Regions from separate parts of the Homo sapiens genome. Here all the other regions are linked to region 2. Evidence: promoter capture Hi-C in 16 types of primary human blood cells and fetal thymus (Javierre and others, 2016). All regions are on one chromosome and are shown on one strand. The core of a region is centred on a gene start or on the middle of the fragment in contact, and the rest is flanking DNA. Distances in the headings are between cores, read along the strand shown.

What was found. Contacts are between HindIII fragments. The CHiCAGO score rates a contact against its expected background, and 5 or more counts as called.
Region 1: a contact is called between a fragment that was not itself captured here and the fragment with the promoter of SNRPB2 in region 2, in 4 of 17 cell types (naive CD8 T cells, naive CD4 T cells, non-activated CD4 T cells and 1 more). The highest score is 8.4, in naive CD8 T cells.
Region 3: a contact is called between a fragment that was not itself captured here and the fragment with the promoter of SNRPB2 in region 2, in 2 of 17 cell types (activated CD4 T cells and total CD4 T cells). The highest score is 7.6, in activated CD4 T cells.

Annotation. Positions count from the first base shown.
Region 1 is chr20:18,277,806-18,281,986 of GRCh38, reverse strand. LOC124904876 (a long non-coding RNA gene) reads right to left here. Exons shown (of 3, transcript XR_007067544.1): 3 at 1,916-2,180. Among named protein-coding and RNA genes, the nearest start is that of ZNF133, 8.6 kb to the left of the region's middle. The HindIII fragment of the contact is 1,498 bases long and covers 1,252-2,749 here.
Region 2 is chr20:16,727,989-16,732,418 of GRCh38, reverse strand. SNRPB2 (small nuclear ribonucleoprotein polypeptide B2) reads right to left here and starts at 2,393. Exons shown (of 7, transcript NM_003092.5): 1 at 2,255-2,393; 2 at 653-751; 3 at 83-255. The coding sequence starts at 716. RefSeq lists a silencer at 1,936-1,985 and enhancers at 2,136-2,255, 2,306-2,355, 2,414-3,282. The HindIII fragment of the contact is 9,448 bases long and covers 1-2,656 here.
Region 3 is chr20:17,957,488-17,962,095 of GRCh38, reverse strand. The region is part of intron 1 of SNX5 (sorting nexin 5); the gene reads left to right. Among named protein-coding and RNA genes, the nearest start is that of SNORD17, 3.2 kb to the left of the region's middle. RefSeq lists an enhancer at 665-834. The HindIII fragment of the contact is 1,208 bases long and covers 2,177-3,384 here.

The sequences.
Region 1 (4,181 bases), core at 751-3,250, 1.5 Mb before region 2:
TATTGCTGCTTCCTTATTCTCCTCCAATGTATGTTCCATTTCACCTTGTTCCTGGCAGCTTCTCACAAGCTCTATTGCAGTTTTTTTTTTTGTTTTTTTGTTTTGTTTTGTTTTGTTTGAGACAGAGTTTTGCTCTTATTGACCAGGCTGGAGTGCAATGGCACAATCTCGGCTCACTGCAACCTCTGCCACCCAGGTTCAAGCAATTCTCCTGCCTCAGCCTCCCGAGTAGCTGGGATTACAGGCACCTACCACCATGCCTGGCTAATTTTTTTGTGTGTTTTTAGTAGAGACAGAGTTTCACCATGTTGGCCAGGCTGGTCTCAAACTCCTGACCTCAGGTGATTGACCCAGCTCAGCCTCCCAAAGTGCTGGGATTACAGGTGTGAGCCACCGCACCCGGCTGCTCTATTGCACTTTTTTTTTTTTACTGATAGCGTGATTTACCTGTTTAAAGAAACATGCCTTTGGGTAGTTTATTTTTATATTTAAATATATTTTTATTTTTATATATTGAAATGGTTATTTTTTTAATTTAGAAAGAAATACTTTTTTGTAAATTTTAAACCTTTTATTTGAAAATAATTTCAAACGTAACAAAGTTGCAGGTGCAGTACATGTAACACTGATGCAGTACTTTTAATAACCTATCATCGGTATTCTAATTTGACAATTGACTTGATAATGTGTTTTATAACTTTTTTTTTTTTTTGCGTTCTAGTATGGGATCCAGCCTAGGATTAGGTTTAGTTGTCATGATTCTAGTATCCTTTAACCTGGAATATTTTTCTTAGGGTTTGTTTTTCTGTCTTTTAAGAACAGGGTCCTCCTTTTTGGTAGCTGAATGTTTTATTTGGGGGTTGTGTGAGGGATATCACATTTGGTAGTGCCTGATTTCTGCCTTGTACAGTTACTATTTTTTTCGTTTCTAAGACCATCTCTGAGGAGACAATTTAAGACTGTGCATCCATTAATGATTCTTGCCTAGACTAGTTTTTACCCTAATAGTTACAAAGCTGTAATTTCCAATGCCAACACTCCCTCCATATTTTCCAGTCAGCACTAGGCATTCAGGTAGGATGCTATTTTATGAAAGAAAATACAGTATTCAGGTAGCAGTGAGAGAAGGACAGGCAAATCACTGATCCTAGTGTCACCAGAGCTATTCAGAGGTGCAGAGAGCTGTGAGAGCTTGGAGAAGGGAATATGGGGTGCAGAGTGGCAGAAGGCAAGGTTGGGGCTACATAAGCTTCCTCACCTGCCTGGCCAAGGTGTCTTGACTCGATTTTGCATGTGGCTGAGCTTATAAAATCATAACAACACAAAACCTACCAGCTGAGAAAAGAAACCTTATCAATTTTTAAAAATTTAAATATGGTAGTTCCCCTCCCCTGCCATCCATGGGGGGTTACATTCAAGACTGGTTGCCTGAAACCTTGGATAGTACCAAATCCCACATACTGTACATATGTTTTTTGCTATACAAAAAAACTGAAGATATGGTTTAATTTATAAATTAGGCACAGTAAGAGATTCATAACTAATAATAAAGTAGAACAACTATAACAATATACTGTAACAAAAGTTGCGTGGATGTGGTCTCCCGAAATATCTTATCGTACTGTACTCGCCTATTTTCAGACCGTGGTTGCCCCTGGGTAACTGAAACCTCAGAAAGTGGAACTGTGAATAAGGAGGACTACAGTGCTGCATCCACGTGTCCATATATTTAGTATTTTTAGAATAGATTGTCCATAAGTTAATTTTTTTTACCATATTCATAATTGAGGAAGTCTGAGCATTGCGTTAATATTTTTTAATGACAATAAAACCAGTAGCACTGAGGGCAGATCCTAAAGAATGAAGAAATTAAGGGCAATAAGGAAGACGAAGAGAGTCAGGGATGACTTGTAGCTCTGGTAAAGACAAGAGAGCTTTATTATCAGTGGCAACAGGGAGCCATTAGAAAACCATCTAATGTAGACCAGAGCTTCTCAAACTTCAGTATTCTGGGGATCTTGTTGTGATGCAGATTCTGATTCAGAGGCCCTGAGCTTTCTAGTAAGGAGGATGCTCCTGCCCCAGGACAATGTTTGGAGATGTTGGTCCTCAGAATGTACATTGTAAGTGACAGGTCAGGTGTGGATAAAGCAGACCAAGACAGCAGCTGAAGTTTTGTCCTAGAAATGGGTTGACATGATACCTCAGTCTTGATGAAATGAAATAGCCATCATTTAGTGATTCCTTTGGGAATTTGTCCTCCAGTAGTTCTGTTAGGGCCCAAAGATCCAGGTCTGCCTCAGTCTCAGGCACAGGCTACTATTTTTGAAGTTCTTTTCAGGAGCCAGATACTGTGCTTTAGTCACATCACCTCACTGAGCCCTCCAGACAGCCAAATGGAGATGACTTCCTTTTTACGGACAGGACATGGAAGCTCTGTGTTAGTGAGTACGTTGCCTAAGGTCATGCAGCCAGTAAGTTGCAGAACTCAAATCTGAACCCTTCTGACTCAGAAACTCTGCTCTTACCACATCTTAATTAAGTGCCCACCACAAACACATGGCTCATGAAATGAATGCCTCATGCTCCCTGCCCTCCAGCAGCACAGAGTCTAAAGGGAAGGATGTGTCACAGGTAATTACCATCCAGCCATGTTGGTGGAGAAGAGTACCACCAAGGTATTAGCTTTCCACTCTGCAGCCTTCTTTGGTTAGAACTGTTAAAAATGTCCTTTTACAAAGCAGAAGCTTGAACATTGAATAAGTTGGCATAACATGTTTAAAGGTAATAAATGATTACATCTACCTTAATTGTTTTCATTCCAACATATCGTGACAATTTTCTAATATAAAAGTTGAGAGAATGGCCGGGCGTGGTGGCTCACGCCTGTAATCCTAGCACTTTGGGAGGCTGAGGCGGGTGGATCACAAGTTCAGGAGTTCAAGACTAGCCTGGCCAAAATGGTGAAACCCTGTCTCTACTAAATATACAAAAATTAGCCATGCGTGGTGGTGGGCGCCTGTAATCCCAGTTACTCGCGAGGCTGAGGCAGGAGAATCGCTTGAACCCGGGAGGCGGAGGTTGCAGTGAGCCAATATCGTGCCACTGCACTCCAGCCTGGGTGACAGAGTGAGACTCTGTCTCAAAAAAAAAAAAAAAAAAAAAAAGTTGAGAGAATCATACAGTGAATATCCAGATGCCCGCCATAGTTATTTTTTACTATATATCTTTTGTTATATTTTCTGTCATCCCTCTATCCATCCATCAGTTCATCCACTTTTTTGATGCATTTCAAAGTTGCAGACATCAGTTCACCCCTAAATCGTTCAGCATACATGTCATTAGAGTTCAGTATTTGTCAATGGTTTTTTTTTTTAAATTTAAAACATACAACAAAATGCACAGATCTTAAGTGTACTATTCGATGAATCTTGACAAATGCAGACACCCATAAAACCCAAACCCTTCTCGAGATGAGAATATCCCCGCCATTCTGGAAGGTTTCCTCATGCCCCTTCCCAGTCAAACTCAATTCTGTTGCCTCAAAGGCAGTCACCAAATTAGTGATTCCTGTTCTAGAACATCACATAAATGGAATTAGCTTTTTTTTTTCTTTTCCTTTTAGAAGCCTGTGGTCTTAGCAAAGAGTTGCAAACATTCAACACATCCTTATTAGGCTCCAGCTATCTATCTGTAAGAATTTGTTTATAGGATATGTTTGTTTTAGTGGAGTAGCAAGAAGGCTTGAAGGACTGCCAAGGACACACCCTTCATACAAAGGCACCCACATCAACGCACTAGATGAGAGAGCATCACAATCCCATGTAAGGGCAGAGTAAGCCCCCCACCCCAGGCTGGGAGATTAATGGGTTACAGCAGTTGGCCCCAACCTAGGGATCTTTGGCTTCCAGGTATCCCCAGAATTACCTTTGAACTCCACTATTATTTTTAGTATTTCAAAATATCAAATTGAAATGATACATTAATCTTGCATAGGGCTGCACAGACTAACAAAAGTACTTTTTTTCTTTCTACTGTTGATTGTTATTGTAGAATTATAATAGCGAACATCTCTGGCATATTTATAATGTATCAATCACTGTTTCAAGCATTTCACATTTTAAATTTCATTTGATAATATCAGTAGCGTAACGTCTCATACATGGTCATTGTTTCTGTAC
Region 2 (4,430 bases), core at 1,144-3,643:
AGTTTCAAGCATATTTACAAATCTACTGTCCCATCAATATCATTAATTTCTTGATTAAAGTGAAATAATGGAATTGGCTTACCATTGGTTTACCATAAAATGGAAATCCTTGTAGCTGTCTCAAGGCATTTGTGGATGAGCCCAGTTCCTTAAATATGACAAAGGCCTGCCCCCTCATCTTCATGGTCTTTAAAGCCACAATGTCCACCACATGACCAAACTGAGAAAACAGGGCATATAGGGATCTCTTCAATTCTGTCCAAATTAGAAAAGAAACAAGTTATTGGTAATAAAGTAATGACAAAAGTCTTCATAAAATGATACTGCATTGAGTTGCCCCCCCCACCATTCACTTATTTATACAGTTATATATTTTAATATTTATAAAAACATATACTATTCCCATTGGCTATATGTAATTTTAAAAGTTATATGAAACCATTATATCTATGAGTAGAAACAGACTGTACACACTGTCAGTTCCTACCTATTTTTGTTTTTTAAAAGCCTTCAAATCCCTATAGGAAATGGGATAAACCATTATTTCAGGCACTAAGATGATGAGGTAAGAGGTTTTGAGGCAGTACAATTTTTAAGACAGTAGTAAATAAACACATTTTAGTAGTGAACAAGTATTCTAAAAAGCACTTACCTTCCTTTTTAATTTTGTCATTCATATTGTTGATATAAATTGTATGATTTGGTCTGATATCCATGTTTGTGTTAAATTCTTCAGGAGACAGTAAAAAATCTGTTATAAAAAGGAAGGAGTAAATTATACTGGACTGTGGCATAAGGACACAACACAAGAATTATTAACTTTTCATTTCTCTTTCAATCCCAGTTGTCAGAAAATGTCAGTTTGGCTGTAGCCTTTATTGTATCTCCAGCACCTACTAGCCCTCCTTTTCATACAGAAGAAGAACAGTTTCTCACATTCAAAACTTGGAGCACCAATACCTAGCCAGATTTTAGTAACACCATTTAATTCAACACATTTATTTTTACACTTACGTTTCACTTATGACACGTGACATTTTCTTTCCACCTCCTCAATGAAATAATTTTAAAATGTAGATTTGAAGAAAAATGACCAAAGTAGCAAATGTACATCCAGTAAAAATCATAAGGTTAGACATTAATGAAGTTTGCCAACTACTTAATGGGTGCACTTACAAAGTCCTTCCATACCTATTAATTTGTATACAGCATCACCAAGCTGTCTGGACTCCAAGGTTATCTCTAACCGACTTGAAAGAAAGGAGCTCAATGACAGCAGTGTGGCATGACGATTAAACTCAGATTCCAGTATCAGCCAGATGTGAATTCAAATCCTATTTATGCTTCTTACTAGCTGTTTGCCTGAGGGAAGTTCCTTAACCTCTCAGGTCCTCATCAGTAAAATAAGAATGGTAACAGAACCTACCCAATAGAACTCAGAAGACTAAATGAATTCTAGCACAGTTCTGCATCAGCGGTAAACACTTAAGAGTAGCTATTATTAACAGCTATTACCAGGTAAGGAACTTGCCTAAGGTCACACAGCTAATAAGCATCAGGCCTGGAAATTCAGCCCTTGCTTTCTCCTCTACACTTGTCTTCCTCATATACCACACTATTGCATTTTTTACATGGTTTTTACTTGCAAATTGTGAACTTGGATGATTTCCTTGTGTGCCCCACATATTCCTTTATCTCACAGTATTTACAGAGCATCCACTGTATGTGAACTGCATTGGATGATTGACAAGGGAAGAGCCTACAAGCAGGGGCTGCACTTGTGCAGGTAACAGGTAAAACGTAACGCTTCTCAAAGCCTTGCGACCCCCTAAATCGAAATCTGGAGAAGGGGCAGGGGTCGCAAAGGAGACGACGAAAGGGAAGTGACTGAGGCAGAGGTCAAAGTGAAGGTAGGGGGACAAAGGGGAGGCTCTTGCAGGGTTTCATGCGAGGTTTGATCGTGGGCTGCGTTGTTACAGGGACACCCTGAATTACCCGCCACCACCAAAAGGGAGCCGCTGGAAGACACCTGAAAGCGCAGTGAACTGTCCACGCCTCGCACGAGCAGACTGACATTAACTATCCTTTACTTCGTACGCGCAAGCCTCCCGCCTCTCCAGACACAAGCACCTTCGCCCAAGGCCCCCTAACGAAGTCCAAGGGAGCTGCCACGCGATGCCCGGCCCCAGAGTCAGTCTCCTCACCCCCAAGCCTGCCCCTCCGAGATCCAAACCCGGGCCAAACGCGTACCCACCCCAGCTTCGCGCTTCGTCCGCTCCCAGCTGCAACAGGGGAGAAAAGGGCCGAGGAGCCAGGAAAACCGAAACAGCGAGGTAGAAGGCGCACGAACCCACCTAAGGCCTACGCCGACTACTGTAAGAACCAAAAGCAGGAAACGGAGCCAGGCACCGGAAGCAACGTAGCCACGCTCCTCAATCGAGCGCCGACAAGTCTAGAAGCCGAGCACAGAGCCGATCGATGCTTCCGGGTCTCTGGCAGCCAGGGCTGGCAATCTCTCTGCGCGTGCGTCTGCCCTGCGGGCAGGAGAAGAGTCCGGAAATGGAAATGGGGAAAGAGAAGGGGGTTGTGAGGACCATGCTGCGAGGGAATAGTGAAGGGGAGTGAATCATTTCCCCTACCACGACCTTGCGAAGCTTTACCCGGCGCAACAGTGCCTTCCACCTTTACAAATCCTATGTAATTTTACAGGCGCTGCCCCTCATGCTATGGGGCAGTTAGTCCTGGTTTCGCCCTTCTTTGGGCTCTAGCTACCCCGGTTTAAAATCACCTTTAGGATAGCCAGTTCCTCCTGCCTCCGAGTCTCCTCTGATTCATGGGGCTCTGCAGGAACTGTCCTCCAACACTGTGCTGATGAACTTGAATCTCAGAGGCTACTCAGTTTGAGGGCCCAGGGCAGACAGAACTGGTGTCTGCCCAATTCTCATCTCTCACCAGATAAGGCAACCATGCTGACTAGAACCCAGTCATCTGTAAGATCATCTGCCTCAATTCACTCGAAAAAATAATTCCCTACCACCCTTCCCACTCTTTTCTTCCAACAAAAGGTCTAGATTTTTCTAGGGTATTCTAAGGAGTTAGTATTTATGCCAAGCTGAATGGGAGTTCCCAAAGTGCATGCATTCATTCATCCATCCATTCATCAGATGTCTGTAAAGCATCACCTGGAATATGAAATGGTTGTTAAGAGTCAACTGGAACCTAATCTTGTACCCTCTGCTTAACTAATCTCTCTGACCTTCACTTTTTTCATCTGTAAAATAGGGATCCTAATAGTACCTCCTTCTAGTTGTTGTAAGCATTAAATGAGCTAAAATAAATGTAAAGTGATTGGCACATTGTCAGACACAATAAATGCTCAAAAATGTTATTTCTGAATTCTGGCTATAACTTGGTTCTACTGGTGAGGCAGGTAGCTGTCAAATAAGTTGGTTTTATCAGCTGGGAATTTTTATTTTTTAAAAACACCCAAAGTTGCAACAACTTGAAAATAATATAAGCTTTTTAAGGGTGGGGTTTTTGTCTGCTCTGTTCACTCAAGTACCCTTAGTAATGGGAAAAGTGACTGATAATTAATATGCATTGGATAATTCAATGAATGACATGGAAAACTAGGCAACAGTAAAACAAATATGCTTTGAACATGCACCTGAGTGTAGAGAATGTTAAGGGATCACAGAAAAGCATCGTTTTATTATATAGATCTAAAACTAGAAGAAATGGCTGAGTGTAGTAGCTCACACCTGTAATCCTAGCATTTGGGGAGGCTGAGACAGGAGGACTGGTTGAGTCCAGGAGTTCAAAATCATCCTGGGCAACATAGTGAGATCTCATCTCTAAAATAAATAAACCAATGAGAAGAAATGTCCTATCTCAGTCAAAGAATTATATCTTTAACAAATTAAAAGAGAATATAAACTTAATATAAACAATTTCTAAATAACAAAGGACAAGCTGTTTTGCATATTACTATGAGCATCTCAGCAATTAGTTCTGTTTGATAATAATGAGGATGGCTACACTACTGAGAATAAACTATACTCTGTATTGTATAAGGGGATCTAGCCAAGAGTTGATAACTGTTAAAAGAGAATAAGATGTGATTATACAAAAACACTCCAACCTGGGAAGAAAATACCACAAGAAACACAGAGGCCTGAAGACAGACTGCATGTTGTGTTCTATTAACAATTAAATTACAGCTATTGTACATTACACTGTGAGAAGGAAATCATCCATTGCCAACTCAGCCGCAATGGTCTGCATGCACTTTTCCAGGTTCTTCTAAAAAGAGCCAGTGCATTTTCCTGTCCTTGGGCAGTCACTCTGGGCATTCCAATAACCCGTTAATGATTCTCAGTGGTTTCCTGAACGATTTGAGAAGCCAGTTATTGAGAACAGTACAGGAAGGG
Region 3 (4,608 bases), core at 1,531-4,030, 1.2 Mb before region 2:
ATCTTCAGGATGGCAGAGAATAGTAACAATTCGGAGCACCAATGGGAACATTGTTTCCTGAGAGTTCAAACAGTAACAAAGTAGCATGTGTTTCCTAAATATGTATCATGTGAATCTTTAATATTTGTGGACATTAATACAAATCTAGAGTGTGACAGAACATCTTTGAATTTTATATTCTCACTTAACAAATATTGGACTAGGCAAGGTGTGGATATCTTTCCAGCTGAAAATCTGATCAAGGAGGCAGGCTTCTTGGCTCCATGCTAAGAATCATCGATGATTTGTCATATTGGCCCTCTTGCTGGCAAAATCTTAGTTTCTTAGGCAGTGGAATGAAACATAACAAAACAAAATCCCTAGAGGCTAGGAACAGATAGTTTGAAAGAGAAGACACTGTAGCATGTGCTGCTTAAGTACATATCTTCTGCTTTTGGAATGGAAACTAGGAAGTCATTTAAATAGATATGTGTCTTTTTTATCCTATCTGTAGTAATTTATGTGGGATATTCAAATAGGAAAATACAGGCTAGCACTGCATATTGTATCCATGTCTTACATTGTATACAAATGACTATTAGATTTAAATGACTGTTCAACTAGCCCCAATCTAACAGATCAGAGATTGTGGAGTTTCACTTCTTTGGACTGTGTCTTTTTCATTTTGGCACTGAGTCTGCAGTCACCATAACCACTTAGAAAAAACTGTATTTTTTCTGTTCTCCTGGTGGGTTCTGAGTTTTAGAATCTTGCCTTTTGTGTTGTTCAGTCATCCAGGTGCCCTTTGCCCTCTGTAAGCCATTAAACCTTTTGAAGAGGCAGCTTTGCTGGTAGAGTCGTAAGTGAAATTTGGACCAAAAGTGAGTTTATGAAGACTGGTGGGCAGGAGCTCAACAGCTGCAGGGTTGTCCTGCAGCCAGTGTCTGATGTGCCCCAGCTGGGAAGCTGATGAATAGGTGAGGAAATGCACAGGGATTCCGTAACTACTTTTCTCCTTTTAGGGAAGTGCCTTGGCTCTCTTACCAAAAGCACTGCGATTTTTTAAAACAGTTGAAAATGTGCTTTCCAAATGAAGCCGTGCTTGTTTACCGTGAAGGCTGATTATAATCCGTATTGTAAGGATTGACCTGGTAGGGAAGTACATCATGAACTGAAACTTTACCTAAAACTTTGGATACGTGATCCAGTAGTTTCAAGGGAAATCTACAAAAGTCAGGTTTTTAAAAATTTTTTAAAAATTCTGAAATAGAGATGAGGTCTCACCGTTTTGCTCAGGCTGGGTTGTTGGGTTTGTTTTTTATGTGTAGTTTTTTTTTTTTTTTTTGGAGACTCGCTCTGTTGCCCAGGCTGAAGTGCAGTGGTGCGATCTTGGCTCACTGCAACCTCCTCCTCCCGAGTTCAAGCAGTTCTTCTGCCTCAGCCTCCTGAGTAGCTGGGATTACAGGCGCACGCCACCATGCCAGGCTAATTTGTGTGTGTTTTTTTGTTTGTTTGTTTTTTTAAGACGGAGTTTCGCTCTCATCGCCCAGGCTGGAGTGCAGTCGCGTGATGTCGGCTCACTGCAACCTCTGCCTCCTGGGTTCAAGCGATTCTCCTACCTCAGCCTCCTGAGTAGCTGGGATTACAGATGTGCGCCACCATGCCCAGCTAATTTTTGTATTTTTGGTAGAGACGGGGTTTCACCGTGTTGGCCAAGATGTTCTCGATCTCCTGACCTTGTGATCTAGCTGCCTCCACCTCCCAAAGTGCTGGGATTACAGGCGTGAGCCACCGTGCCTGGCCACTTTTTGTATTTTTAGTAGAGACGGGGTTTCACCATGTTGGTCAGGCTGGTCTCGATCTCCTGACCTCAAGTGATCTGCCTACCTTGGCATCCCAAATTGCTGGGATTGCAGGCGTGAGCCACCACACCCAGCCAGAAGTCAGTTTTAAAACTTAAATTATTTGAGAGTAGGTATATTTTCAATTTGATTCTTACAAGTGACCTAAGGGATCTGGAAAAGAGGTAAAACTTTGCATGGTAAAGGTCCGGCATGCCCAAGGCTGGACTTGGTTCTAAAGCCTGCTTTGTTAACTGTTGTAAACGGCCACTGTAAGCATTGTAACATCTGTGGCCTAAGTCAGAGACTCAAGTGTTGGCCAGCAGGGCTAAGGAGTACTCTGAGCCCTTCAAGCTTAAGGGGGGATGGAGGCAGAGGCAAGTGAGAGGGGAAGAGTGGAGCCTGGCAATTATTTAGCAAGTTCTGTAGCACTGTGGAGTGGGTTTGTTGACTAAGCAGAAGGAATGCTGAACTTTTGGTCACACTTGATGCTTCCCGAGTGAGAGTACAAATGCTGACTTAGAAGCTCTAGTCATTTCACAAGTTTCTACCCATGTTTGTCTCATCTGGAGGGTTATATGCTATAATATGAGAAAGTTCATTTAACTTGCGCCTGGGGGACATTGAGTTAATGATGGCCTGGATGCTGAGGGGTTTTGCCAATACTCTCTTTTAGACAGTTCTTTAAGGCCCAAATACAACATTGCATTATTTGCTTATTTGGTGGTTAGGACTGTCATGTCAAGTGATTGGAGTTTTGCTTGAATCCCTTCCTAGGGCGAAATGTCTGGGCAAAATGGCTGCTAGTGAACCTCGGATGTTTGATATGCTGTGGTTGCAGTCACTCATAACCTAGTGGTTTTCTTCTTTTTGTCTTCATCACATTCTGAAACAAAAAATATGTTTCTATACTAACCAGAAAGGAAGACAGGTATAGTCGGGGGTATTACCTCTACATGGGGAAAGGGACGAAAAGAGAAGATAATTATTCAGAGGAACGAAAAGCAGCTAAAGCAGCTGGTAGCATCCATTGCAGCTTTAACTGTGGTGCACAAATGAGCTCCATTTACTTGATTACATCCCCCTTGGGTCCTCCTATTCGAATTCCAAGGGTATCCCATGTGGAGTTCACAGGCTCACTGAGTTTGCTGGGCTTGTGAGCGAAAATGGAACTGTCAGCATATTCATTTGAGCAGTGCTAGAAGTCAGGGTTTGTGACTTTAGGAAATGGAATCTTAGGAAATGTGGCAGTTTTTGAGCTCTGGGAAAGGCACCTTAGACCTGTCCTGTGAGCTGTCCTATGTCTCCTCCAGAGACCATGGCTACTTCTTAGGCCTGGCTCTGTTTATTCCTGTTCTTGGGCCTGCCTGACCTTGACAGATAAGCCTAAGATCAGTAGAGTCGTTGGTATAGCCTCTGCAATCACATCTCAGTTAATGATTTGAGGTATTTTTAAAGGCTGTATTTGCCAGTGTTAACTTAGCAGAAGGAAGGAAGCTCTTATCAGAAAATACGCCAAAGCTGGAGTCAGTTATGATCAAATGAAGTCGCAGACCTTGAAGCTTTATCTTTGTTTGCAGAGATCTCACAAATGGACATGTGAAAATTAAGCCAGACAAGCAGATATTTCATAGGAGTTATCAAGAATTCATGTGGAAGAAAAATACTTAGGTTGAGATGTGAGGACTCAAAAGTATCTGTTTTGATCTTACTAATAGTTGATGTTAAAATCAACTTCTGGTGACTACTTGAGCTTAATTTTTTGGAGGAAAGCCATTGTAATAGGCTCCCTCTGGCTTTCAGAATTATAAATATACAGTGCTTAAGGAAAAAGGGAGTACTTGAAACTTAAGTAATCCATGTGCTTTTAGTGAATATATTTAGTCTTTTTATAGCTGATTGACCAGATTTTCAAGTTTTAGAGGTTAAGTACATAAGTTTTTAGTCTTGAACTTTTTATTTTGAAGAAAGGGACCCAAAGGGAAATTTGGAGTGAAATACCTCATCTTCTTAATTGTAATCTTCACTTGGCATTCCGTGCTTTGGGTAATCCAGTGTTATGACAACTTTACTTTAGCACTCCTTACAGTAAAAGGAATGGGGCAATGAGATGCTTACGCTATGAGTTCCTCGTGCCTTGTGTGTCAGGTTTTCAGATTGACCACCACCTTGTCTGCTTTAATGTACTTTTATTTAAGTCACTTTTCCCTAATAGCCCAGTTCCTATTAGTGCTGCCACTGTTCTCTCCTCTCTTTTTTTTTTTTTTTTTTTTGACGGGCAGAAATGGAGTTAGGTAGTTTTTTTCCTCTCAATTTCCAGCTCAGAAAATCAGTTAATTGAGTATTCAGAGTGATGCTCACACTTGTTGCTCATGTGTAACCACAGTGGGATTGTGCTAATTAAGTAAGGCCTTGGTTGGTTTTTCTAATTCACCCCTCCTGTCTAGATTCCTTGGCTATTTGAAACAGTCCCAGGTTTACTCTGAACTCTCCACCCAGGATCCTATTCCACATGACTGTTCTCTGTGCCATCTCCCCAGGTTTTCCTTTCAGATATTTGTGTGGCCTGGTTAATGCCTCTTGAATGTTCATTGTACTTTGGCATTTATGTAAGAATTCAAGATTTTGTTCTATTTAGTTCAGGCCTTAGTGTACAGTCAGGTATTTGGCCAAATGTATTGTACATGACATTATTGTAGCTGTTGTTTACATTACAGGAATACTTCGGATATACCAATGCATGTGAAGAATGGGTTTCCCCTCAGTTTCACATAAACTTAGAAATGTC